7 separate regions of the Homo sapiens genome follow, and all the other regions are linked to region 5. Evidence: promoter capture Hi-C in 16 types of primary human blood cells and fetal thymus (Javierre and others, 2016). All regions are on one chromosome and are shown on one strand. The core of a region is centred on a gene start or on the middle of the fragment in contact, and the rest is flanking DNA. Distances in the headings are between cores, read along the strand shown. Region 1 overlaps TTC7B (tetratricopeptide repeat domain 7B). Region 2 overlaps TTC7B (tetratricopeptide repeat domain 7B). Region 3 overlaps TTC7B (tetratricopeptide repeat domain 7B). Region 4 overlaps TTC7B (tetratricopeptide repeat domain 7B). Region 5 holds the start of NRDE2 (NRDE-2, necessary for RNA interference, domain containing). Region 6 holds the start of LINC02321 (long intergenic non-protein coding RNA 2321). Region 7 overlaps TTC7B (tetratricopeptide repeat domain 7B).

What was found. Contacts are between HindIII fragments. The CHiCAGO score rates a contact against its expected background, and 5 or more counts as called.
Region 1: a fragment that was not itself captured here is called in contact with the fragment with the promoter of NRDE2 in region 5 in 1 of 17 cell types (endothelial precursors); the score reaches 6.0 in endothelial precursors.
Region 2: a fragment that was not itself captured here is called in contact with the fragment with the promoter of NRDE2 in region 5 in 1 of 17 cell types (naive CD4 T cells); the score reaches 5.6 in naive CD4 T cells.
Region 3: a contact is called between a fragment that was not itself captured here and the fragment with the promoter of NRDE2 in region 5, in 14 of 17 cell types (total CD8 T cells, total B cells, naive B cells and 11 more). The highest score is 9.7, in total CD8 T cells.
Region 4: a fragment that was not itself captured here is called in contact with the fragment with the promoter of NRDE2 in region 5 in 7 of 17 cell types (total CD8 T cells, endothelial precursors, naive CD8 T cells and 4 more); the score reaches 7.0 in total CD8 T cells.
Region 6: a contact is called between a fragment that was not itself captured here and the fragment with the promoter of NRDE2 in region 5, in 2 of 17 cell types (total B cells and monocytes). The highest score is 6.0, in total B cells.
Region 7: a contact is called between a fragment that was not itself captured here and the fragment with the promoter of NRDE2 in region 5, in 6 of 17 cell types (naive CD4 T cells, non-activated CD4 T cells, erythroblasts and 3 more). The highest score is 6.6, in naive CD4 T cells.

The regions. Positions count from the first base shown.
Region 1 is chr14:90,720,977-90,724,192 of GRCh38, forward strand. The region is part of intron 5 of TTC7B (tetratricopeptide repeat domain 7B); the gene reads right to left. Among named protein-coding and RNA genes, the nearest start is that of TTC7B-AS2, 25 kb to the left of the region's middle. RefSeq lists an enhancer at 332-1,531. The HindIII fragment of the contact is 2,697 bases long and covers 282-2,978 here.
Region 2 is chr14:90,681,570-90,684,586 of GRCh38, forward strand. All of the region lies in intron 7 of TTC7B (tetratricopeptide repeat domain 7B), which reads right to left. Among named protein-coding and RNA genes, the nearest start is that of TTC7B-AS2, 14 kb to the right of the region's middle. RefSeq lists an enhancer at 705-1,205. The HindIII fragment of the contact is 4,032 bases long and covers 1-3,017 here.
Region 3 is chr14:90,763,073-90,766,197 of GRCh38, forward strand. The region is part of intron 3 of TTC7B (tetratricopeptide repeat domain 7B); the gene reads right to left. Among named protein-coding and RNA genes, the nearest start is that of TTC7B, 52 kb to the right of the region's middle. The HindIII fragment of the contact is 2,213 bases long and covers 365-2,577 here.
Region 4 is chr14:90,741,328-90,744,318 of GRCh38, forward strand. The region is part of intron 4 of TTC7B (tetratricopeptide repeat domain 7B); the gene reads right to left. Among named protein-coding and RNA genes, the nearest start is that of TTC7B-AS2, 45 kb to the left of the region's middle. The HindIII fragment of the contact is 1,692 bases long and covers 719-2,410 here.
Region 5 is chr14:90,330,637-90,333,660 of GRCh38, forward strand. It overlaps NRDE2 (NRDE-2, necessary for RNA interference, domain containing), which reads right to left and starts at 1,305. Exons shown (of 14, transcript NM_017970.4): 1 at 1,205-1,305. The coding sequence starts at 1,268. RefSeq lists an enhancer at 1,059-1,238 and a silencer at 1,389-1,538. The HindIII fragment of the contact is 5,093 bases long and covers 1-3,024 here.
Region 6 is chr14:90,825,304-90,828,464 of GRCh38, forward strand. It overlaps LINC02321 (long intergenic non-protein coding RNA 2321), which reads right to left and starts at 2,871. Exons shown (of 4, transcript NR_184259.1): 1 at 2,686-2,871. RefSeq lists a silencer at 2,902-3,161. The HindIII fragment of the contact is 3,534 bases long and covers 1-3,161 here.
Region 7 is chr14:90,701,189-90,704,083 of GRCh38, forward strand. All of the region lies in intron 5 of TTC7B (tetratricopeptide repeat domain 7B), which reads right to left. Among named protein-coding and RNA genes, the nearest start is that of TTC7B-AS2, 5.3 kb to the left of the region's middle. The HindIII fragment of the contact is 892 bases long and covers 954-1,845 here.

The sequences.
Region 1 (3,216 bases), core at 380-2,879, 390 kb after region 5:
TCCCATTAAAACTGAAAACCACTACCCAAGACAAATGCTAACCAGTTCATCTGTCAAGGAATTCCAGTTTCTTGGTGGTGATTAAAGGAACTGTAGCCTGCCTTCCAAGAGGCAGCATATCACCGGTAAACCATGCAGGGAGGGGCCTTTGGGAGATACAATTAAATGCCAATCACTAACCTCCTCCCCGACTTTGGAAGCTTAGAATGACCCACCCCATTTTTCTGCTGAAACCAAGGAGAGATCAACACAAACGCACCCATCTTGCTGAATGCTGAGGAAGCTTTCTGACGGCATCAGATCTCTAACCCTCACTAAGTGCTAGCACTTGTGAAGTACACTGAAAGTAATTACCTGTCTCCACAATTCATCACTGAAAAGAGGGGTTTCGGAATTTCATAATTAAAATCGTTAGAGATTCTTTTGTTTCCACACTAAGGTTTTGATGGCATTAAGGGATGAGCAAGACCTAGCCCACATTTAAACAGAACAGATAAGATCGGGCTGATGCTTTTTATTCATACATAATTACGTCTAGACTTGCTTTATCTTTATTTTTTTAATTACGTGAGACCAATTAGAAGACGATAGACTAGCTTTTTAAGGTCCTTAATTTTCAAGTGTAATATATTGCTATGCTGCTCCTGACTCCATTTTCAAGAAGGTACTGACAGGGCATGGTCAGTATGGCCCAACTGATGAGAGGACTGAACTGGAAGACAGGAGCAAGAGGACAGGTCCCAGCTCTGCCCTAGTCAGTTGTGTGACCCTGAAGAAAATCATATTACCTTGCTAATCAACTGTTTCCCCAATGATACATAAACTCCATAAAGCCAGCGACTGGGTCTGACTCATTCACTTAGAACAGTATTTGGCACTAGTAAGTAACCTAGTAAGGGTCTCCATCAATGTTTGTTGAATAATTAGTGAACAGGATTTCTCTGAATCTCATGTATCAAGAGAAGTGATGGAAACAAATGCTCTCTAACAGCTGTTGGAGCTTCCGGATTTTCCGAATAGAAACTGCACCATCAGTTCAACTATTACGAAGATCTCCCTTCAAAGTGAAATGACTCATATGAAGAGCGTGGAACAGCGATCTAGGTGAGTCAAGTCTTCCAGACATGTGAGTGCCCAGGCGACATGTGGCATCCCCAAGTTGGCCTTAGCTGGCCAGGCTGCAGGAAGGCGCCCTATATCTCACGCTACTCCATCAACTTCCATTCTGAAGCTGTTAAAGCAGCTCTCACACAGACTCCCTCCTGGCTCTGTCCCTCCCGGCTCTATCCCTCCCTCCATCATCCCCACCTTCCTAGTATGGTTCCTGCTGAGGTTAAAATGTAGCCTGTGGCCAAAAACCAAGTAAAATGAACCTGATCCTACTAAAATGGGGGACGTGGCTCTGGTGGCACTAGATTCCTGGTGGCCAAATGAACTACCCTGTTCTTGACCCTTCCCAAAACCCCACCTTCCAGATCCAATGGCTTCTCCACACCTAGAGAATGAATTCCCTATTCCTTAGCCTGCTGTTTAATCTTCCACCATCATTCTGCCATCGGTCCTTCCAGCATGAACTCCACCTTAGAAAAGAAAATGGAAGGGGAAGAACATTTCTAGGAAGTGGCCTGTATACAGAGCTGCAATTCATCCTGTATCATCTGCTCCTCAACTTCCCCTGTCCAGCTTCTGCTCTTACCACTCCACCAAGTTTGTTCAGGGTCACAGATGTCTTCCATGGTATCTGATCCAGGGGTCACAATTTGGTCTTCTTTATTAACATCTAAGCAGCATTCAGCACAGGTGACCACTTCCTCTTTCCTAGCACAGGTTCCCGTTTTGGCTTTCACAAGGACACACCCTCACGATTTCCCTTCCACCTCTGGCAGTTCCTTCACAGGATCCTCCTCCTTTACTCAACTTCCAACTCTTGCAGGTCTTCAGGCCAAGTCCTGGGCTGTCTTCTCTCTTTACTCTCTGCCCCTTCACTGATCTCATTCAATCCTGTGGCCTTAAATATAATCAATATGCTGAAATTCCCCATTTATAACTCAAGTCAAACCCGTCTTCTGGTCATGTTGACACTTCCACTTAGACATCTCACAGGCATCTTAAACCTAACATGCCAAAGGCAAATTCTTGATTTCTCCTTTTCCAGATCTGATCCTCTCCTTGTCTCCACGCATCTAACCAATGGTTCAAGGCTGAAACTGGGGAGTCATCTCTGGTTCCTCCATTTCCCTTACCCTCTGTCCCCCAAATCCAATCCACCAGCAGTCCTAACTCTAGTAGTTCTAACAGACATCTCAAATGCATCCACTTCTCTTGGTCTCTATACCCTTTGTTATCTCTAAGATACACATCTAATGTCTTCACCACCTAGTATCACCTACCCTTTGTCCTGGTGACTCAGGGACTTTTCTTTGGACAACCATCACTCTCCCACTATATGCTGCACAGTGGACCTTCCTTCTTCTGGGTAAGCCAGACTGAGACAGTTTGTGACCCTCCTCCTTCCAATGCTTCTACTACATTGGACTCCTTTCTGATTCTTGAACACTCCAAGCTCTTTCCCGGGTCAAGACCTCTGCACATTTTGCACCCACTCCTTGGAGCTCTCTTTCCCCTGTGCTTGACCTGGTTAGTTCCTTCTCACCCTGCAAGTCTTGGTCTCATCTCAATGTCACCTCCTCCGGAGACCTGGCCAGGCCACCCTATCTAAGCAGGGGCCTTCTGTTATTTGCTTTCACTGCACCCATTCACTTCCTAGCACCTATTCCAATTTGTAATTATATATGACCAGTACTTACATATTATCTGTCTCCCTCACTAGACTGTCTCCTCCCTGAGAGCCTGGACTATGTCTCTTATATTGGCCAACATATACTAGTACTGAGCACAGTACTTGGTACTTAGCAGAACTCAACAAATACTCGTTGAATAACTGACCAAACCCACTGCATGCCAGGTCCCATGCTGAAAGCTTTATAGGAACATCCCCAGATGTCTACAGAAACCATCACTCCAGCCAGACTGGTCTCATATCCTGTAGAATACACACAATACCGAGTACAGTTCTAACTCCACACTCTACCAACCACTGGAACGTCCCTCTGGTGCTTCCCCATCTGTAGGCATCTACACCATCTCAAGCCCACTTTTCCAAATCTTCACTCCCCTTTCCAAATCACATGGCCCTTCCAGCAGAGCAGTGCTCCT
Region 2 (3,017 bases), core at 47-2,546, 350 kb after region 5:
TGATAAAGAGCAAGACAGGAGGAATGCAGCGCCTGGTATTCTCGTTACAATGCTGATACCGCTGGAGGTAAGGAAGCCACCTGCAGGATGGTTTCTATCATTCTTCTGAGGCTAAAATTTTATGAAAAGGCTGGCCTGAGAATGAGGAGCAAGATTCGGGGATGTGCAGTGACTTGCTTCAGAAGTCAGCTTGAGATGATCTGGGTTTTTCAGATGGGACACTTCTTTCCCCTTAGATTCTGGAATAGAGCCTAAAGGCTCTGAATTAAGTGTCTCCCAAACAACCACCTCAGTATGTTGTTGTTGTTGTTGTGTGTGTGTGTATGTGTGTGTGCATGTACATGCACACTCGTGCCCCACAATCATTTCCTGATATCCTGGCTTGTGGTTACATGCAATTGGGACCTTGCAAATAAAGCAGTAACATGAACCATTGTGTGTATGTGTGCACGCACACACCCATATGTGCACACCCATGCCCAGCAATCATTTCCTGATATCCTGGCTTGTGGTTACATGCAACTAGGATCTTGCAAATAAAGCAGTAACATGAATCATTTTTTTTTTCATGGCTAGCCGGTTCTGCATTATCCAGACCAATTGAAAAGACAGACAGCCTATGCTAATTGTGACTTAACAGCAGTCAATTCAGTCCATGGCTAATCTCCAAATTCTGTTTGAGCCATCCAGCCTGCTTAAATGCTAGTTTGTGTTATTTTTACCATAGTTGCTAACAAGTGGCACATTAACCGAATCCAGCTCCACTTCCTCTACCCTCCCTATTTGTGGCAGGCAAGGTGGGTACTCAGGAGCACTGCAAAGCTCCCAAGGCCAGCAGGAGCCGGGGGAGAAAAGGTAGTTTTAAGAGACATACCTAAACAACTACACATTAGAAGGCTCCCTCTCAATCATTATGAATTCTCTAGACCCATTTCCGGCCAATTCCTTCCCTCTTGTTTGCTCAGGGAAGCATGGATGGAGCTCAGGGTGAACGGGTCAAAACTGTTGGGGCCTTCCTTTTGTGGCCTTCTCCTCTTTGGGGCCCACGAGCCTCAGGGGGAGATACTGGGGTACCCAGGCCTCAGCCTTGAAGAGTGGGAAAACTGGGGCCCTAGATCCAGAGGAAGTTGCGTGAAGGGGAAGGTGGGGGACGAAAGGGGACAAGAAGAAAACAGGGCTCAGCAGGCATGAGGACAAGCTCCCAAGAGCTGGCAGGCTGGCAAAGGAGGCGGCAGTGGGGCAGCTGCTGCGCTGAGAATGGGAGGGTGCGTCCTCGTCCCAGCCATGCCACCAACTCACTGGGTGACCTTTAGGCAAACTGCCCATTTTCTTACTTTGGATGAATTTACCAACTCATTTTCTGATTCTACAGAAGACATAGGGAACAAGGGTGAGAATTCTCAGGTATAAGTAGTAATCATCATCTTGCCAGGGCTCCCACATAATAGCTTTTTCTTAAAAATTTCCTCCGAAAGGTAGAAACTTTACCTTAATGGTAGACACAATCATACAAAAGAAATTAATCCAACTTTACCCAACTGCATTTCATCTCTTCTGTCATCGTTAGCCATTATATAACTAATGACAAGTTGAGGTCTAAAGGTCACCGGCATCCCCTAAAATTCTCTATTTAGGTGCAGGGAGGGCCTTGAACACTGCCAACCCACGAGAAAGTTGATTTGTAAATAATGACAACATCAACTCTAAGGTCTAGTAATGGTTCCTTTATAATTTTAATATGTCTGGCTGAGATACTACCAGGAAATTCCTGGAGAAACACAGCCTCTGAACCACAGCCAGCCAGGTAAGAGCTGAGGCATGGAGGCCAAGAATGGCTGAAGTCCCACCCCGACCCCAAGTCACACTGTCTGCAAACATGCCAAGGCAGAATCTACTGTCGATCCCAGGTTTATGTGGATAAATGGGTATCAAAAAAGGAATAGGACTTAAATTGAAAATTAAGAGTGCATCTTGATTATTAGGGATCAGCTAGTCTGATGTAAGGACTATCGAGGCCTCACCACGCTTCCATTTTGTGTCAATTCATATAGGTCAAAAATCTCCCCATGACAAAGAAAGAAGGGTCCCTCACGCAGCCCAGTGCAGGTCCACTGGGCTACACTCTGCTGAGTGGGTCAGGTGAATCCCACATAGAACATCACCTTGCACAAGTGTTTCCATGTTCCTGCTGAGAGGACGGGCCTCTCCACAACTCCAAGGTGGGCTGTGTACACCAGAGGCAAGGAGATGACAGGCAGCCAACGGTGTAGCTGGTCGTTTACACAGCTTTGGTTCGGCCATCAAGAAGTCATCCTGACCCTTCAACATCCCTCTGCTTTCCATTTTATTTTATTTATTTATTTTTGCAAGCTCTTGAGGATTTATTGTGTCCACGGAAGGGCCTGGCCAGTGCCTGGCTCGGGATGTTCTGCCCTCCCCGGCCAAGACCCCTCCATTTTCCATTTTAAACAGCATTCCCATCCTTACCAAAAACTGGAAACCAGGAGGTTCAGATCTACACTCAATATTCCATGATAATTACCTTTTCCGCCGAGACCTACAAAGGAGTTTAGACAGTGCCTGGCACTCACTAGCATTCAATGAATCTTTTCATCATCTGCTTCTTGGAAGTATTATCCAATATTAACCAGTATCCACAATAGCTGTTTTTAATCTTCTGCTTTACTTTGTGTTAACTATCTAGTCTAATGTGCATTTAATTGTCGAAGCTACCTCAACTGCTTCTTACAAGAAGAAATACAATGAAAAAAAGTATGCCTGACTGACTGAAACACACACACATATATATATACACATTAAGAAACATGTAGATGCAGGGGGAAAAAAGAAACACGTACAAGACTCTTCACAGAAGCACTGTTCCTATTAGCCCCAAATGGGAAACAACTCAAACTCACAACACAAGCAGAATGGGTCAATATATTGGAGGACAGTCATAAAATGAAATACCTCGCAGCAATGAAAAACACTGCTACATGAAGAAATATGGGTGAATA
Region 3 (3,125 bases), core at 221-2,720, 430 kb after region 5:
AAACCAAAGGCATCACAAGAATACCACCAATATCTATTATGAATATAGGTATTAAAATCCCCTACAAAATATTAGCATATGGAACCTAGCAATGCATTAAAAAATCATATACCATGACCAAATGGGATTTAATTCAGGAATGCAAGGTTGGTTTAATATATGAAAATCATTCAACGTAAAATGCAATATTTAAAAAATAAAGCACAAAAATTACACGAACAATGCAATAAAAAAATTAGACAGTGTCTAAACCCTATAATGATAAAAACACTCAACAAACTAGAAATAGAAAAGAGCTTCTTCAAGTTGATAAAGGCTATCTATGAAAACGCCACTGCTAACATCTTAGTGGTGAAAAACTGAAAGCTTTCCCCCTAAAATAAGGATGTCCACTCTGGTCATTTCTAATCAACATTGTACTGGAGATACTATCCAGCACAATTAGGCAATACAAAGCAACAAAGTCATCCAGATTGGAAAGGAAAATGTAAAATTATCTTTATTTGCAAATGCCATGATCTTACATATTTTAAAGCCCTAAAGAATCCACAAAAACAATATAATAGCTAATAAATGAGCTCAGCAGGGTTAAAGGATACAAGATTAATAAACAAAAATGAGCTGTATTTCTATACCTTAGTAATGAGCAATCTGAAATTTAAAAAATAGTTTCACTTATAATAACATAAAAAAGAACTCTTAGAATAAATTTAACAAAAGGAATGTAAGACTTGAATGCCAAAAAAATCTACAAAACATTTTTGAAAGAAATTAAAGAAGATATCCCATGTTCATGGATTGGAAGACCTGATATTGTTAAGAAAGCAATACTTCCCAAATCAATCTACAGATTCAACACAATCCCTACCAAGAATTATTTCTTACACTAATTTACAACCTGACCCTAAAATTTATATGAAATGTAAGCCAAAAAAATCTTGTAAAAGAAGAACAAAGTTAGAAAACACACTCCCCAAACTCAAAACTTACTACAAAGCTACAGTAATAAAGACAGTGTGGTACTGGCATAAGCACAGACATACAGACCAGTGGTACAGACAGAGAGTCCAGAAATAAACACTTACATATATGCTCAACTAATTTTCAACAAGGATGCCAAGACAATTCAATGGAGAAAGAACAGTATTTTCAAAAAATTGGGCTGAAACAACTGAAGATCCACATACAAAAAGAATGAAGTTGGATGCTGACCTCACAAAAATATACAAAAATTAACTCAAAATGGATCAGACACCTAAATTTAAGAGTAAAAACTATAAAACTCATAGAAGAAATCACAAGAGTAAATCTTCATAAACTTGACTAGGCAATGGTTTCTTAGATACAAAACCAAAACAACAAAAATAATAAAAGAAAAAAAAATGAACTGGACTTAATCAAAATGAAAAATGTTTGCATTTCAAAGGACATCACTTAGAAAGTGAAAGACAACCCACAAAATTGTAGAAAATATTTACAAACCATATATCTGTAAAAGAAATTATATTTAGGATATATAAAGAACTACTACAACTCAATAATGGAAAGACAAATAACCCAATTAAAAATGGGCAAAGAATCTGAATAGATATTTCTCCAAAGAAGATATACAAATGGCCAATAAGCACATGAAAAATTGCTTAATACCACTTATCATTAGGGAAATGCAAATAAAAACCACAATGAGATACCATTTCATACACTCTAGGATGGCTATAATCAAAAAGACAGATAACAACAAGTGTTGATGAGGATGTGAAGAAATTAGAACCTTCATGCAGGTGAGCTGCTTTGGAAAACAGCTTGCAGTTCCTCAAAAACTTACACTCAGAGTTACCATGTAATCCAATAATCCCACCCCTAAGTATACATCCAAGATAAATGAAAACCCAAAATGTTTTGGATGGGATTATGTTCACCAAAAAACCTGTACACAAATGTTCATAGCAGCATTATTAATAATAGTCAAATAATAGAAATAACCTGCTGTCCACCAACTGATGAATGGATTAACAAAATATGCAAAATGGTATATCCATACAATGTAATATTCAGTCACAAAAAGAAATGACACATGCAGCAACATATAAGGACCTTTAAAACTTTATGCTAAATGAAAAGAAGCCAGATACAAAAAGTCAAGTGCATGATTTCATTTATACAAAATTTCTAGACTAGGCAAATCTATAGAGACAGGGTATAGATTAGTGGTTGACTAGGGCTATAGAGTTGGGGTGGGGGTTCAGGAAATGGGAAGTGACTGCTAATGGGTAAAGGTTTCTTTTTTGGAGTAATAAAAATTTTCTGAAATTGATTGTGGTGATGGTTGCACAACTCTGAATATACTAAAACCCACTGAATTGTACACTTTAAAGGGTTGAATTGTATGGTATATGAGTTATATATCAATAAATCTGTTATTTAAAAAGCTATAAACAGAATTCCGGGAAGATGGTGGACTATGAAGCACCAGGAATCTATCTTCCCACATAGACAACTATTGTACTGGCACAATCTGTTCAATATAACTATTTTGGAACTCCAGGGTCTCTTGAAGGCTTACAATTTCCAGGGGAAAGCTTGATGGTAAATTGCAGTTAATTTCAGCTTTTAGCATAGTAGAAGCTGTGAACACATTCCTAGAGAAGCAAATATAAAGCTTGCAGGAGCTAGGGTGGGCAAAGAGCACCCTGTCCTCCAAATATTGGGTATCTGTGTTCTGATCACTGACTGCTGCTTCTGATCACAGGGGTGCAGAAAAGAGGCAGTAGCCATTGTTGCTGCACCTCCCTTCATTATTGCAAGCCACCCCACATACACCAACAGAAGTGACATCCAGAGGATTTAAAGGGCCAGTGCCCTTTCCCCCAGCCTCATTTTTCTCTTTCTCCCTTTTGAGGGCCAGACATTCAAGACTAGAGCATTCAAAGGCAACTACATACATGGGGAAAATTAGATGGTTGACCATGCATGCCCATGGAAAGGCACAGACTCAGAGAAGACCTAAGAAGACCTCAAATATATACCCCAGGCTGATCCTTGGCACAAAGACAGCCTACAACGTTTTTTTTTTTTTTTAATAAACAAAAACAGCAAACCCTGAGAATGGGGAGAATCCTATTTCC
Region 4 (2,991 bases), core at 315-2,814, 410 kb after region 5:
CTCCTAACTGTCTCCAAAAACCCTCCCCAAATTTTACTCTTGCTAGTGAATAAAGTTAAACGCCAGGACTAATAAATAAAAGGCCCACAGGCCCCAGCGAGCAGAAGTTTCTTCACTACAGAATGGCGGGGAAGTGACAGGGCACCATGGAGAGGCCACCTCTGCCCAGCGGAGCAAACAGGAACAGCGTGTGTGATTTCCTACCTGGCAGGGCTGATCCCAAAATAAAGCCCTATTTGCCTTGGATTGCTCAAGGCTTTGATCAGATTCCATCCCCTTTTCTGTTTTCAATTCAACATAATTCTTACTGAGTTCAAAATTAAGTCAATTAAGTTCAACATTTAAAAAAAGAAAAAGGCCAATCAAGTATCTCTTGCATAACACACAACTATCTTGCCACATAAAAACCTGCAAACTTTCCACCAAGCCCATTGGTCACCTAAGGAAGGTTATTCTCCTCGCTAGCCTTCTGCTTAATCAACAGTTAGTTTCTTGAGTACTTACTACAGTCAAAACAGATGTTGGGTTCATTCAATCTCTCTCATTGCTAATATCTCAGCTTGCTGAAATCTGGGGAGGTCCAAACTGGTTTTCCAAAAAAGAAAACGCCAGAGCCAGAAATTTGAAAATCAGAGCCAGAAATTTGAAAATCGTGTACCTACGCTGAGATTTAACCTTAGGCTAAAGAAGCTGCTTCCCAAATGCTACCAAAAGCTAAAGCTTACTTGGTCAAATAAAACATATTTATTGACTTTTTTTTTTAAGTGCAGTGGTACAATCATAGCTCACTGCAACCTCGAACTTCTGGGCTCAAGCAATCCTCCCACCTAAGCCTCCCAAGTAGCTGGGACTACAGGCACTTGCCACCATGCCTAGCTAGTTTCGTTTCATTTCGTTTCGTTCGCTTCTTTCTTTCTTCCTTTCTTTCTTTTTTTTCTTTTGTTTCTCTCTCTCTCCTTCCCTCCCTTCCTCCCTCCCTCCTTTCTCTTTCTCTTTCTCTCTCTCTCTCTTTCTCTCTTCCTTTCTTTCTTCATTTGTAGAGACAAGGTCTCACTCTGTTGACCAGGCTGATCTTAAACTTCTGGCCTCAGGTGATCCTCCTGTCTCGGCCTCTCAAAGTGCTGGGATTACAGGCATGAGCCATCACACCCAGCCTTATTGAGCACTTTCTCTAAGTAAGAGTGTGGAGAAATGTCATGCTTTTTCTTTGTTTGCAGCAGCCTGGGAGAATAAAGTGAGCCAGCACTAAGCTAGGTGTCGTGTGAGTGGAGTTCTAAAACTAGTTTTGGCCTAACTTTCTGTGTGCCTGGGCTCTCCCTTTCTAGACCTCAAGTTTCTTCTCAAAATCCAACATCTTATGATCACCATTTCCCCAAAATCAAAGAAAAGGATTTCTTTTAAATCCTACGACTATACAAGCCTCCTTGATGTTCCTGCTGAAGAACCCAGCACTGAATGGGGTGTTGTGAGTGAACATAACAGAAGTGTATTCAGATCTACCAATTCCTACATCACTACAGACACATGTAACACATGAGCCTCCTTTCTCCCAGCCGGGAGAAGACGGCTCCAAAGTGACAGGGCTGGACAACAGTGGAGAGTAAGCAGCAAGATAGGGCCCTAAGTGGCCAGGGCTGTGTAGTCAGCTGGAACAACTCAGATGGGATAAGCAGACTTCTCGACTGCCAAGCACGGTCCATCAAGGAGGCAGACAGTGGAAATAATGGAGGTTTTTAAAGGAGCCTGGATGATCATTCCTTTAAAGATCATATCGTAAATTCTGAATAACAACAACAAATTCTCTTCTCATAGCAACCTTCTGATAGAACATAATTCTGGCAAGACAGACATGTATCTTCCTGAATTCCCAGATATCTTAAACCATGGCTTATAATCCATTCTGGTTGAGGCCAGGTCAAATGTTATTCCCATCACTCTCTCCACCTCTCCTGCTGTGATTCTCACTCTAATCTCCCTGCCTCCTAAAAAGGCAATTCTGATGCATATCATATGCACCAACACATGACAATATGATTTATGAAAAAAAGTTACTTCCTGTCTGTTCATTTATAAAGTAACAAAAGCTAGGGAGACTTTGGCAGTCTCTCTCTATTCTAATCTTTACAAAAACAAGGAGCCCAGAAAATTGCTGGAAAACAAGACCTCCAATCATTTTCAAAGTCTCATAGGATTTCTAATCATTTCAAACACTCTTGTAGGGTACATCTCTGGGTCTGAAGGGGTCAATAGCAGTGTCCTTGGTGAGAACTCCAGGAAACACTGCCAGCAACAGCAACTGCTAGGAGCTATTGTTATTAATAAAAATAAGTGACATTTACCAAGAATCCAATATGTTCACGAATCTGGGCTAAGTGCCTTTATTCACAAGACCTTATGTAATCCTCACAAAAGCTTCATGAAGTAGGAACTATGATTATGTTCTTTTTATGGACGGAAAAAATCGAGGCTGAGAGGTGAAGAAACTTAGTAAAGAGTAGAACCCAAAGATGAGAATCTGAAACAGGCATGTTGCCTCCACCTCCCTGGCCCCATCCAGCCTCCAGCCTCCAACCTCCTCTGTCTGAGGCTGCGAGCTTAGAACCCCGAGCTCACTCGTTCTCTGCTCAGAGGCCCTCTTGTCAGCTGCTCGTTTCCATCACCCACACCACAGGCGAAGCACTGAAGGCTGAGACCATCCCTGATGGTCTCCGGGGATACCCGATGTACTCAGCTCGGTCTACTTCGGTCCACGTCCCCAGCACCTTTGCCATATCTGTCAAGGTAAGGCCTCCCAAGCCCCAGATGAACAGGTCTTGGCACAGAGTCCATACAAGTACAAATGAAGCTCAACCCATTTTATTAGGAAGACAGGGGTGGCTGGCCAGCTTCAGGGTGCTGAAGGTATGAACAGATGCACACTGTCATTTCTGCTCAGAGGATGCTAAAATGCTTCACAAACACTGAACCATCTATTTTTCTTTCTTTCTTTCT
Region 5 (3,024 bases), core at 55-2,554:
CTCGTCTCTACTAAATATTAAAAAAAATTAGCCAGGCCTGGTGGTGCACACCAGTAGTTCCAGCTATTCATGAGGCTGAGGCAGGAAGTTAAGCCCAGGAGTCTGAGGCGGCAGTGAGTTATGACAGTGCCACTGTACTCCAGCCTGGGCAACAGAGTGAGACCCTGTCTCAAAAAAAAAAAAAAAAATTAGGAGAAACGTTACAGAAAGTGTAGGAACTATATTAGAGGATATAACAGACAGGTAAGACTCAATTGCGCCCTGTCACATATGGCACATAATTTAGAATTACTTTTTTTTCTTTTTTTTTTAGAGACAAGGTCCCCCCACCCCAGGGCAGGATGCAGCGGCACGATCATGGCTCACTGCGGCCTCAAACTTCTGGGCTCAAGCAATCCTCCTACCTCAGCCTCCTGAGGAGCTGATACTATAGGTGTGCACCACCACGCCTGGCTTTTTTTTTAAGAGACAGGAGTCTCGCTATGTTGATCATGATGGTCATGAACTCCCGGGCTCAAACTATCCTTCCACCTACAGGTGTGGGCCACTGCTCCTGGCCAGGATTAATTACTTCTTAAATGAACTATGTACCCCAATTTTGAACAATGCAGCTCTGCTGGAAATGTCTGGGACTTAAGTAAAATGTGTAAAGCCATAACCTGATACACACTAGGCCCTCAAGAATAAATGTTAGTTATTTTCACTGGGTGCTGTGCCCCTCCAGAGAGAAACTGATTAGGTTTTGGATACTAATCCCCTAGCTCTAGGCCGCTAAGTAATACCAATCTAATAAGCATTTCAGAAATAAGTATAACAGGAAAGGAAGTAATATGTAATAAAAACATTCTGCATTTGCATCAAGGGTTTCCTCGAGATGTCGAGTATCATTATTCCCAATTTAAAGATGAAGTAACTGAGGCTCGAAAAGAAGAACAGGACCTAACAACATCGTACAGAAGTCCCAGCTCCAGGGCATCTGCTGGTCTTTCTCCACCCCTCCATAACTCTACAACCTTGGTCCAGAACAGGCCTCTGGGCCCCAGACCTCGGAGGGATTGAGCCTTTCCCAGAAGGCTTTGCAGCGCCGCGGAGAACTCTGGGATACAAATGGATACACAAATCCAAAGCAAAAGTCTAGACCTGGGCCCGAGAAACAGCCTCTTAAGCCCCCCAGGTGCCTTCTTCGGCTCGTTTGTGTGCTTACCTTTCCTGGAGCTCCCGCCATCGGGAGCCTCACTAAGCCCCGCAAAGGCTGGGAACAGCGCCATGACCACAGGCCGTACCTCCGTTCTTCTCTATAGGGATGGCGCCGGCGAGCGAGCGCCGGTCTGAGGACCCCTGCCGTCGCGGTGCACTCTGGGAAATGTGGTTTTCGCGGCGCTCTCTGGGGCTTGACCCCGAAGCGGGAGGGGCGGGGCCCAGAGAGGAGGGTCGTCAAGGGACTGGGGCGCGGCGGGGCAGGGAGAGGCAGGGCAAAGCAGGGTGGGGCGGGGCCAAGGGGGGCGGAGCGAGGAGTGACGGGTTCCTAGTGGTTGGGACCCTGTGAGAACCGGAACTGCGAAAACCGGAGAAGGGAATTGTTGACCGCGAAAGGGACTAAGGAAATTGGGATTCCAGTTCGACCCCTAAATTCACACCATCCTTGCTAACTGGGTCAACTTAAACGCTCTAAGCATTACTTTCCTTATCTGCAAAATATTGAGAAGATTAAATGAACATATTTATAAAGGGCCTAGCATTGAGTCCGGCCCATGAAAAGCACTTAATATGTGTTAGCTATTATGTGAATTACGACTGCAAGTTCGGCTCAAAGTCATGTGAGATATCCGAACTTCAATCAGGTTACCATATTAAATACCCCAGAACAAGGAAAAATGGAAAGTCCCATCAAGTTCAAGGGTCTTTGATAGTTAGGAAATACCTGTCTGTGAAGCATTCTTGACCCCGGTTCCTCCCACCCAAAATCTAATCACACTTGCTACCAGAAATATAGAGAGTAAAGGAACAACTTAGAAGACTTTGTACTACCAAGAAACAATTAGCCAAATCTAGAATATGGGAAATTATAGAAAACAACCGTGCTTCCTTAACATATCAAGGGCTTTAAGAGGGCAGGAGATTGTAATAGATACGAAGATCTTACAGACACATCAAGCAAATACAACATATTTGTGGCCTCATTATAATTCTGATTGGACAAACTGTAAAAAGACCTTTTTAAGATAGATGGAGAAATAAGAAGGTAGGCAGAGTACAAGCAATTCACAAGTAATTCTTGTGAATTCTGTTAGATGTACTAAAGTACTTATGTCACTGAGGTGACCCTTATTTATTTATTTTGAGACAAGGTCTCCTTCTGCCACCCAGGCTGGAGTGTAGTGGTACGATCTCTGCTCACTGCAGCTTCGAACTCCTCGATTCAAGCAATCCCCTCACCTCAGCCTCCCAAGTGGCTGGAACCACAGGCATACACCACCATGTCTGGCTTAATTTTTTTTTTTTTAATAGAGACAGGGTTTCACCATGTTGCCCAGGCTGGTCTCGAACTCCTGGGCTCAAGCGATCTGCCCCCCTCTGCCTCCCAAAGTGCTGGGTGCCTGTGCCTGAGCACCCCCCAACCCAGCCTGAGATTACTTTTTAAAGTTCTTATATATTAGAGATATATACTGAAATATTTGCAAGTGAAAATAGATAGGTAAATGAAGATATATTTATTGGGATCCTAGGGAGTTAAAGATCTTTAGTTAGGAAATACATTATAAACCAGAGATGCAAATGTAATCATCTAATCAAGGAATGGATGGACTCTGATGAAGTCTGCAGACCTGCATAAGAATTAGGTTCTATGAGTCCAAAATAGACACCCTTAATGCTTTGAAGTCCCTGGCAGAGTACTTACAAAAAGGAGCTTAGTATGACAATAGGGGCAGTAATTCCTGTATGTCTTCAACTTTAAATCTCAGGTTCTGCCAAAATCTTTGACTCTAAGTTACCTCAATTAATTGGGGCAGCATTTGTCTTTCT
Region 6 (3,161 bases), core at 445-2,944, 500 kb after region 5:
TAATAGGAATCTTCAGGAGTGTTTTCCTCACACTCAGAGTTCTGGGGACACTTCCGTGTTACCCTGTACCCCACCTGTCCTATCTTCTCCAAAAAAGGCATAGACTGGGTTTGTGATAAAATACCCACCTATATCTGTAAATGAACATCAAAGTAAAGATGGGAAACTATTCAGATACGGGGGAGAAAGGTGTATCTGCCAACAGGGAGGAGACTGACTGTTCCTCAGCATAAGGCTAGACTGATTTCTGAGCTTCCTAGCAGACCAGGCACAGAAGAAAACACGTGGAATGGTTTTATTTATTTAATTTTTTTTTTTTTTTAGATGGAGTCTCACTCTGTCACCCAGGTTGGAGTGCAGTGGCTTGATCTCAGCTCACTGCAACCTCCGCCTCCTGGGTTCCAGCAATTCTCCCTGCCTCAGCCTCCCAAGTAGCTGGGATTACAGGAATCTGCCACCATGCCCAGCTAATGTTTGCATTTTTTAGTAGAGACAGGGTTTCACCATGTTGGCTAGGCTGGTCTTGAACTCCTGACCTCAGGTGATCTGCCCACCTCGGCCTCCCGAAGTGCTGGGATTACAGGTGTGAGCCACTGCGCCTGGCAGAATGGTTTGATTTAAATGATGTTGTTGATTCACATATCAGGAGTTTGTTTGTTTGTTTGTTTTTTGAGATTAAAGTCTTGCTCTGTCACCCAGGCTGGAATGCAGTGGCACAATCTTGGCTCACTGCAACTTCTGCCTCTGGGGTTCAAGTGATCCTCCTCCCTTACCTTCCCAAGTAGCTGAGATTACTGGCATATGCCACCACGCCTGCCTAATTTTTGTATTTTTAGTAGAGACGGGATTTCACCATGTTGGCCAGTCTGGTCTCGAACTCCCGACCTCAAGTGGTCTGTCCACCTCAGCCTCCCAAAGTGCTGGGATTACAGGTGTGAGCCACCACGCCCAGCTGACATCAGGAGTTTTAAAGAGAAATCACGAACTAGGTGGGCACAAGGGACCTGGTTGTTCCTGGGGAGTTGTATCAGCAAACAGGTTTGAAGTTTGCACTTCGGACACGTTACTGTGAAAAAAAGAAACTAATTCTCATTTTGTGTGAAGGAGCCTGATAGACACAGGATCTGCTTCAGTGAGGAATTGTGAGTGATCTTCCCCTGCACAAGGCCAATAGGGTGCAAGGTTTCCACAGTTCAATTCAACAAACGTTTATTGAGTACCTACTATGTGCCGGACACAGTGTTAGGCCTTAGTGATACAATATTGTGTAGGGTATGGTCCCATCCCTCAAGGAACTCACAGTCTAGTGGGGGAAAGAAGTGAGCAACAGCTCTGCAGCCGGACCCAGAGGAACGCCAGGAATTAACTGTGGTGGGTGCTCCAGTAAGTCTTCCTGGAGAATGTTGCCCCCAAGCCAAGCCTTGAAAAAGGATCTCAGGTCCAGTCTGCTCACCAACCCTCACCATCTAACAAAGTGGTCCTGGGTTTTCAAAACTCTTGCACTCAAAATAGGGTCCCAGTATTCAGACATATGCAGTCCCAGATCACCCCCGACCATCAGATGAGAAAAACCCAACAATCTGGTCTCCTTTCCTGCAGCAAAGCACTTGGTGGTCAGAAGGGTTGGGGGTGAAGGTTTATGGGATCTGCTGGACAGCTGGTGAGGCATACAGACACTTCTGGTTATTATCTTTCTCCCAAATCAAATGCTAAAGGTACTAAAACCATGCTGACTGCATGAACCATTCCCTGGGGACTGGTAGGGCATTCCATTCCTCCCCACATTTGGGAGTCCAAACTGGGGTGGAGGGGTAAGAAGTAAAAGGTCTGGGTCAAGTGCTGCCCATCAGCTTGTTCATGATCAGGTACCCTTCAGTTTCCTTATTTGTAAGAGGAGAGTGCTAGTCAAGGAGGTCCTGGGCTCTGGTCGTTGATTCTGTCCTGTCAAAGTGAGAGTGGCTGGAATGGGATTGGTATATGGGTGCTCCCATACAGCTGAGGTTCCTTTCTGAGCTCTCAGGAAGCAAATTAAAAAAAAAATAATAATAATTACCAGGTGAGATGGCTCACAGCTGTAGTCCCAAGCACTTTGGGAGGCCGAGGCGGGTGGATCACCTGAGGTCAGGAGTTCGAGACCAGCCTGGCCAACATGATGAAACCCGTCTCTATTAAAAATACAAAAATTAGCCGGGTGTGGTGGTGGGCACTTGTAATCCCAGCTACTCGGGAGGCTGAGGCAGAAGAATCGCTTAAACCCGGGAAGCAGAGATTGCAGTGAACCAAGATCACTCCACTGCACTCCACCCTGGGTGACAGAGTGAGACTCCATCTCAAAAAAATAAAAAATGAAAAATAAAAATAAAACGAATAATAATAATAAGGCATCTGAAAAAACTCTTGAAGTTAGGAAACCTGGATTTGATTTTCATCTCTGTAACTGACCTGCCGTGTGACCTTGTGAAAGGCGTGTCCCCTCTCTGGGGGTGTCAGTGGACTAATTCCCGAGTTAGCTGTGGGGGGAGATGATCACTGGCATTTAACAGTAAGGTGGGGCTTCAGAAGTCCATCTACTGCGAAGCAAGAGAAAACTCCACGGAATACACGACTGAAACGAGTGGGAAGCCAGATGTGTCACGGACGTAGGGAGGGGAAGATGAAGGTCCCAGCAAAATCCCGGGAACATACCTGTCAAAGGGTCAGCGAGAAAACCAGTCCCTTGGCTGGTTGAAAGGAACACTTGATTCTTTGTCAGAAAGCAGCCTTGCGCTTCTAAGGGGTCTGCTGTCTGAAAGAAGCCTTCGAGGCTCGCAGACCTGGGGAAGAACTCAACCTGCCTTCAGCCCATGGGGACTGGGGCCGGCGCGGCTTTCTGGAATCGAACGGAACGAGGCGACCAGGCGCGGCGGCGGCAGCCAATGAGGGAGCCTCCTGATGAGGTCATGCAGTTCCTGGGCGCTTCATTGGCGGATCCTTCGCGGGGCCGCGGCGGGGGCCGCAGGGCGGAGCGAGGCGGGGCGAGGCGGGGCGGAGGCGGTGCCTGCCAGAGCCCGGACCTAAAACCGCGGTTCGATTTTCCTTATTTCCTCCCAGCGCTTATTTCCCCTGAGCGCGATGGGTCAGGCCCTTCTTAAGAGAGCAGTGAAAATACCCAGAAAAAAGGG
Region 7 (2,895 bases), core at 150-2,649, 370 kb after region 5:
CAGGCGAGGCTTCCGGATGTCTCACCTCAAACCTTATGAGAGCTGTACTGGGCTTAACAACATTTTTTGGACTACCTCAGCAATTGAGGCTTCCTCGTGACAAAAGCAGAGTCAATTATACATTTGGTCAGCCGGCCAGGCAGCACACAGTACAGGGAGTAGGGACTACGGCCCAGGCAGTGTAAGTGGCACCAGACACATAAAGTCAAAGAAGTCACAGAGAGTGGCTTCTTGGAGTTCATACTTCAGGGGCCAGGACAGGAACACATAAACAAGTCCTTCCAACAGGCGTGCACAAGGCCTAAGAATGAAAAGTGGCCAGACTGCTCTGACAGCCCAGCCAGAAGAGCAACTCGCCTGCCCTTCACCTGTCCCCTCCACTCCCCTAAGCTCCGAGTCTCTGAGAAACAGGAAGTGTAGAAAGCCTTGCCCCATCTCACATCCTTCCTTTCAACCTCTGGGAATGAGTCAAAGAATATCAGTACTCATTCCAAAAGAAACGTATATATATATATATATATACACACACACAAATATATATTTCTCTCTCCATATATATCTGTGTGTGTGTGTATATATGTGTATATATGTATATGTGTGTGTGTGTGTATATATATATATATATATATATATGGAAAGAGAGAGAGAGAACACTCATACCTACTATGCACTAAGAAGTGAGGCACAGTGAACGCAATGGTAAGCCAGTCAGCAGACGTGAGTCCTCATGAACTTGTATTTTAATGATGTTCAGTTTAACCCTAATGGTATCCAAACACACTTGGACTCCTCAACCTAATAATACTTAAAACAAACCAATCCGAACTTATCTATCATATAAGGATTGTCCTTCACCCGGGAATCCATATGTTTATCTATATACCCGAATGTAAAGAGACAAAATAGAGTCATGGTTACAGACCCTGGAGCCGGACAGCATGAGTTCAAGTCCAAGCTTTGCCATTTATTAATTGTTGACCTTGGGCAAGTGCCTGTGCCACAGTTTCCTTATAAAATGGAAATAACAACTGTACCCACCTCATTTAACCATACCCACCTCACTGCTGTAAGAATTAAACTAGTCAGTAACAACTGTATTGCCCTCATTGGGTAACTGTACCCACCTCACTGTTGTAAGAATTAAACTAGTCAGTAACAACTGTACCCACCTCATTGAGTAACTGTACCCACCTCACTGTCGTAAGAATTAAACTAGTCAGTAACAACTGTATCCACCTCATTGATTTGTTGTAAGAATTAAACTAGTCAGTAAATGTAGGAAGTGCTTTTTAAGTATTTGCCATTATTACTTCTGTTAGCCTCAAAACTCTATCATTGTTTTAAAAAAAAAAAACTTTTGGAATTCTGGAATCTGTTTTCCAGTCAATTTATAGCATATGAAAATCTGCTTTACTTCTTTGAAGTCATTTAATTTTGAAGGAAAAAAGATATTCCCCAGTTTGATTCATTGATCCTCTTTGCTATTTACTGAAAGTCTACCATGTCCCAGGAACTCCCTATGTAATTCCCAGGTCTGGCTCACAATGACAAAAGACAACCCATGTCAGGTAAGAACAGTAAAAAACTTTCTCTGGGGCCTTGTGGTCACCCTCCTGGGAAATGATGTGACATCTCCTAAGAGTGCTGGTGCCCCTGACGGGGGCAGGGGAACAGTCTCCAGCCACGGCTTTGGGGTGGGGCACGGACAGATGACCGCGTGTCTGGCAGGTGTGAATCCTGACTGCTCCATCACACTTAGCACAGTGAGCGTGTGGAGACTGTTCTGAGTTCATCAAGAAGGGCCAGATCACACTAAAAAATTTGAACTCAAAAGTGAACCACTAAAGCTTTATGAGCCCATAACACAAAGCTGGAGAGGAAAGCTCGCCACTTCCACTGGGGAAGTGTCTGCTCCAGACCTGGCCAGAGCTGGAAGACAAGCATGAGGGCGGGGTCCCCGTCAGCCTGCTTCATAAGACGGGGCTCAATTAGCTGCACAGAACACTGATGGGCACAGGCCAACAATATTCGTTTTTAATAGTCCAGAAAAGTGCAGAAAAAAGACAATCTGGAAGGTAAAAATGTCCTGCTAACAAAATGACTTCATTCATCAATTCTGAGTGGCAAAGTCACATAGGAAAAGAACTTCTGGCCACCCTGTCCATCCCCTCGACTGGGCTATGGAGAGGAAAAAAAGGCAGAAAGGATGTCAAGGGGAGGAAAGTCCCTCCAAACGCACCACAAGCACTTGAGCTGGAAGTTCGAGTGTGAGGATAAGAGTGCAACGTTCACTTCCATTCAATTGACAGGAGAACTGCATTTCCAACACAACTCTGGCGACCACATTTCAAAGCTAGAACAGTGAGAAAAAAATCCAAGGGGATCATTTGAAAGAAAGGGAAAAAAAAAGACCATTACATGTGCAGGGGTCAGCAGTCCAAATGGCTGCAGAAGCCAAGCAGGTAGCAGAGGTGGGTGAAGACAGACTGTGGGACGACAGGCGTCGCAAGCCTACAGGCCTCCAGTTCAAAACCATAACATAGAAACTCAACAGGGAAGGGAGGCTCTTTGCCATTAAATTGGTAAATAAAAGCCTCTGATATTTTTCTTGGGGAAACAAAGCAGTGCTGCTCAGTTTGAGGCAGCACAGTGCCGATGGGATTGTCACACATTCTCAGGAGTGGGACCAGATAACCCGCTTGGGCCTGGGAAAGGCAAATCTGCTGGGGAGAGAAGACAAAAAGGGCAAAGGTTGAGGAGGCTCATGAGAAGAAGGACTGGAAGTGAGCATGGAATGTGAGCCATCTGGGAACATGGCAAGGGGAACAAGTACCAGATGCCAGGCATGCACTGAGATGGGGAAGGACTGGCCAACGGGCTTCACCTTGTCTCTTC